Linked DNA regions of Homo sapiens: region 2 is linked to region 1. Evidence: promoter capture Hi-C in 16 types of primary human blood cells and fetal thymus (Javierre and others, 2016). All regions are on one chromosome and are shown on one strand. Each heading gives the region's core, a stretch centred on a gene start or on the middle of the fragment in contact. The rest is flanking DNA. Distances are from core to core; before and after follow the strand shown. Region 1 holds the start of TBK1 (TANK binding kinase 1). Region 2 has its middle 16 kb from the start of HELB.

Region 1 (2,700 bases), core at 168-2,667:
TATATAATTTTACTACCCATCTAATTTAGATAAACTTTATATACGACTATAGGAAATAAGCAATAAAAATAAGATTCCCTTTTCACAAATAAGGAATACACATTTGCCAGTCATTACATTTCACTCACGATACAATAACAAACGTCTCAACTATCTAACGAAAAACCTTCCCTAATCAATGTAACTGTAAATGGCAAATAGTACCATTAGGTACCTATATGTATGTACCTTCAGGATAATAAGAAAAATATTTATCAGCTAAGATATCTGTTCTCTATGCAAATACAAAACTATGGTTTCTATTTAACAGTAATCACAATAGTGGTCAGGGGAAATGTCTTTTGAAATTATCTTCCAATAACTCCACAATAACATGTTAAAACATGACTCAGCACACCCACAACGTGCTTGCCATATAAATCTTCCCAAATTTTTGACAAGCATATAAGCAGACACTCAACAACTATGTTGCTGATGATGCCGTCTTCAGCCTACTTCCTTACACCGTCCAAAACGAAAGTTACTATTTGTTGAGGGATGAAAACAGGTTTGACGACATGGCCTATGGACAAAGTTCCAGGATTTCTAAACTCTGCCCCTATGTGATTCATACACTGGGGTTTCAGAGTGGAAAAGACCAGTCTTTGGTTATACATTTGGCAATTACTTGGGAGTTGTTTTGAGGCCACCTACTAAGAATACTTGGGATAGAGATTACAAATTAAACCCATAAGCCAGGTAGACGAGGAGCAAGGAAATGTCTGGGAATTCGTATTTCATCGGCATATATTTAAAACATCTTATGCTTCTAATTTCCGGTGTGAGTCAACCTCTGCGGACTGAACATCACTAAAACTCTAAGGAAACGTCTCTTTTTAATCCTCTGAAAAATCAATACATTTAAAAACTGCCCGTTGTGTCGACGCTCGGAAAGAGGGTAGAAAACAGCGAGTCTAAGGGAAAGAGGTGCCCCTGCCTCCCCAGGCAGCCAGGGCCCAGGCCCGGTAACGGAGTCGTCCTCTTTATGCCCAAAGCCGCCGGACGGGATGCAGGTCGAGGACCGGCCGCGCGGCGCGGAGCGGGGATGCAGGTAACAGGGCCCGCGCGACCATTCCACCGGCTACGGCCACCCGACACACACCCCAGAGGCAGTGTCCACGCAGCCGGGGTCCTGGATGGCTTGGCCTCGGGTCGTCCGGGGCTTCTCGGTGCGCCCGCCCCCGCCCCCGCTCTGACTCAGCATCCCAGCCTCCCACAGGGGGCGGGAGCGCTCCCCGCCGGGCGGCGCAGGCCTGACCGACCGCGCCCCGCGCCGCCTTGGCCCCTCAGCCCGCGGCCGTCTCACTTACCCAGCCGGGTCTCCGCCGCGCCACCGCCGGCGGGCTCCCGCGGCCTCCTCGAGACTCAGGACACTTCCGGCTTCGCAAGCCCTGGCCGGAGGCCACGTGACCGACGGCCGGCGCGCCGGTGCGGGTGCGCGTGCGCACGCCTATGGCCCGTCTGGTAGTCACCACAGCCGCGGCGGCAACTGCCGAGTCGGCTTCCGCGGCCACGGTAATGAGGGGGATGTCTGGAGACACCCCGTCCACTGTTGCCCTCGCCCTTTACTCTAAAGGGGAATGAGGAGCCCTGAGCAGCGAACACAGTAATTGGGATTCCCGCAACTGCAAATCCCGCCCCTTCCCCGAGCGCTGGCCGACAGTAGGGCGGACCGACGCTGAGCAAGGGATTACATCCCAAGATTTACAGGTGTGCAGAACGTGGGACACGTGGGGGGCAGGCACAGACGGCCGGCAGAGCTGGGAGGGATGGATTCTATGTTTTAAGGGCCCACTTTGGCTGCAGTGGAGCCAGATTATCGTCTCGCAGTAATTCAGACTTTACATTGTTTTTTTCATTTTCCCATCACCCAGAAATACATTAAATTCTTAATGTAAAAATGTTCATTTAATTCCCTCTCGGTATTTTGGAAAACGGCCGTATTGGAGTATCTAACTCTAAACTTAAGAATTTAAGAACTAAAACTTAAATACTAAAATTAGGTCCTGCAATATTCGTGCAGTCAAAATCTCAAGCCGCTATTCCCAATAAGGAATAGCTTTCTGAAGGGGTCCCTTCTGCCCACGGACAGCACAACAGGCCTTTCTCAACATGAGGGAGCAGAGACCGCTGCTAATCTAGGGCTAAATTTCTGAGTGGAGGGGAAGAGGAAGATGGTGTTTCCCAGAGTAGCAGCAGCAAACACGAATGAATGGGAAGTCATGCGGAGTGGCTCAGAGGCTTTTGAATGTAACAGACCTAGGGTTGCTGTCTCGGCTGCCAATTACTGACTTAAAAGCTAATCTCTTACCTCTCTAAGCCTCAGTTTTATCAAATGCACAATGGAGATAACAAAAGTCCACTCTAATGAATTCTTACAAAGCAAGTTACTTTATTAGCATTTTAAACAATGTATAAGTGATGGAATCATTCTAACAACACATCTATTCACTGCTTACAATTCCAACTAATTTCAGTTCTTTGATATCTAATGACAAGAGCGAAGACCTGTTAAAGTTCCTTCCACCAGTAAAACTCACAGCTCAAAGTTGTGGGAGTGATTAACTGAGCCACAGGCCTTCATTCACATGTTTACCACATTAAAATACCACACAGTGTTTTCTTATAAGGTCAACCAACTGGGAAGCAATTAACATTAGC
Region 2 (2,700 bases), core at 10-2,509, 1.8 Mb before region 1:
GGCCCCTCTTCTAATTCTAGAAAAGGTCCTGCATGTGTTTAGGATAGACTTGTTCTCCTGGTCTTTGTTAGCCCACTTCAATGAGGTTTCCAACCCAACACATCCCTGAAATTCCTCTGGTGCAGGGTCACCAGTGACTTCCACATGGCTAAATGCAATGGTTAGTACATTTGTTTTCTATTGCTGCTATAACAAATTACCCCAAACCCAGTGGTTGAAAACAACACAAATTTATTATCACCCAGTTCTTAAGGTCAGAAGTTTAAAATGGGGAAGCAGGGCTGCTTTCCTTCTGGGTGCTCCAGGGTACAATCATTCCTTGCCACATCCCTCAGACCTCTGTGTCCACGGTCACACTGCCTTCTCTGACTTTGACTCTGAATCTTTTGCCTCCCTCTTATAAGGACCCTTGTGATTACATCGGGCCCACATGGACAATCCAGGATAATCTCCCCATCTCCAGATCCTTAACATTAACCACATCTCCAAAGTTCTTCTTGCCATGTAAGACAATATAGTCACAGGTTCTGGGGATTAAGATGTGGACATCTTTGTGGGGCTGGGAGGACATTAATTAGCCTACTACAGTTGTTCTCAGTTGTTCTCTTATTGACCTGTCAGCAGTATTTGATGTCCCTGATCTGTCCTTCTATCTGAACACATTTTCATCTCTTGGTTTCTGGCATGCCGCGATCTTTCAGTTGTCTCCCTCCTTCATGGCTGCTCTGTCTGAGTAGCCTCCTTGGCCTTCCTTACTTTCCATGACCACTCTGTCCTTAGTCTTCTCTTATCTGTCCAGACTCCATTCACTCTTATGGCCTTGAGTATCACCTATATGTTGTGGTTCTTATATTTATATCACTGTCTATACATCACTGTTTTCTTTCTTCTTCTTTTTTTTTTTTTTTTAGACGGAGTCTCGTTTTGTCGCCCAGGCTGGAGTGCAGTGGCACAATCTCGGCTCACCGCAACCTCCGCCTCCTGGGTTCAAGCGATTCTCCTGCCTCAGCCTCCCGAGTAGCTGGGATTATAGGCACGTGCCACAGTGCCCAGCTAATTTTTGTATTTTTAGTAGAGACAGGGTTCCACTGTGTTGTCCAGGCTGGTTTTGAACTCCTGACCTCAAGTGATCCACCTGCCTCGACCTCCCAAAGTGTTGAGATTACAGGCGTGAACCACTGCGCCCGGCCTTATACATCACTTTTAAACTACAAACTTGTACTTCCAACTGCCTGCTTAACATCGCCAGTTAAATATCTTTTAAAACTTGACAGGATCAAACAGGAATTCCTGACCATTCTTCCTCCCCAGATCTGCTCTACCTACAGTCTTCCCCATCTCAGTTAATGGTAACTTCATCCTTTGGTTGCTCCCGCCAAACTCTTTGGAGTTAATCCTAACTTTTCTCTGTTTCCTGCGTCCCATGCACAATCCATCACCAAATCTCATTGGCTCTACCTTCGAAACATACCCAGAATCCAATCACTTCTCACCACCTCTGCTGCTCCCACCCTGGTCTCAGCTGCCTCCCTCTCTGTGCTGGCTTATTCCAATAATCTCCTAACGGACCTCCTGCTTCCAATTTTGCTTCCTACAGCATTTTTTTTTTCCAGTGGAGCTGCTATAATGATTCTTTTGAAACAGGTCAGATTGTATTAACTCCTTTGCTCAAAACCCTGCAAGAGCTCCACATCACACTCGCAGTGAAAGCAAAGCCTATTAGGCCTTACATGCTCTGCCCTTCCATCAGTCTCTCTGGCCTTCTCACTTCCTGCTCTCCCTTTGCTCATTTTGCTTCAGCTACACTGGCCCAGCCCCCTTGTTGTTCCTTGAACACATCAGATATGATTCTCCCAGAGAGTTCTTGAACTGTCTCCTCTCTTTGTCTAGAATAGTTTTCCCAGGGAACTGTGTGGCTAACTCCCTCGCTATCTTTGTGTTTTTGCTTAAGAAAAAAGATTATCATCTTCTCAATGGGGCTTACTCTGTCCAGCAGACCAAAGGCCCTTTGTGGCAATGTGAATTGCTAGAAACTTTTGAAATTAATTATATAATGTCTTTTTTTTTTTTTTTTTTTGAGACAGAGTCTTGCTGTTGGCCAGGCTGGAGTGCAGTGATGCGATGTCAGCTCACTTCAACCTCTGCCTCTTGGGTTCAAGCGATTCTCCTGCCTCAGCCTCCCAGGTAGCTAGGACTACAGGCAAGTGCCACCACGCCCAGCTAATTTTTTGTATTTTTTTTTTTTTTCAGTAGAGACAGGGTTTCACCATGTTATCCAGTATGGTCTCGATCTCCTGACCTCGTGATCTGCCCGCCTTGGCCTCCCAAAGTGCTGGGATTACAGGCGTGAGCCACTGCACCCAGCCGATTATATAATGTCTTTTAAAATCTATCAACACATTCTTTAATATAGCACTTCCATGTTGGAGAATCTCTCCTATAGAAATGAGAGCACCACTGTGCAAGAATATTTATTGTACTATTTCTCATAGGCCAAAAGCAACTAGAAACAATCAGATTGCTCATCAATAGAAAAATTATTGAATTTATTATGGTAAATCAAATTAAAAAACATTATGTAGTGATTAAAAAGAATTAAGTTAGAAGCTTAAGGATGTCAGTGCTGTCTAATTAAGTAAAATGGCACATTGCAGAGTAATGTGTAAAGTATTATTAGCTTTTTGAAAAACAACAGCAAAA

Evidence for each region. The method cuts DNA at HindIII sites, captures the fragments that hold promoters and counts their contacts. A CHiCAGO score of 5 or more calls a contact.
Region 2: a fragment that was not itself captured here is called in contact with the fragment with the promoter of TBK1 in region 1 in 1 of 17 cell types (total CD4 T cells); the score reaches 8.5 in total CD4 T cells.

What each region holds. Positions count from the first base shown.
Region 1 is chr12:64,450,837-64,453,536 of GRCh38, reverse strand. It overlaps TBK1 (TANK binding kinase 1), which reads right to left and starts at 1,417. Exons shown (of 21, transcript NM_013254.4): 1 at 1,350-1,417. XPOT (exportin for tRNA) reads right to left here. Exons shown (of 25, transcript NM_007235.6): 25 at 2,412-2,700. RefSeq lists a silencer at 1,077-1,546. The HindIII fragment of the contact is 9,573 bases long and covers 1-2,700 here.
Region 2 is chr12:66,285,388-66,288,087 of GRCh38, reverse strand. No RefSeq gene overlaps it. Among named protein-coding and RNA genes, the nearest start is that of HELB, 16 kb to the left of the region's middle. The HindIII fragment of the contact is 2,700 bases long and covers 1-2,609 here.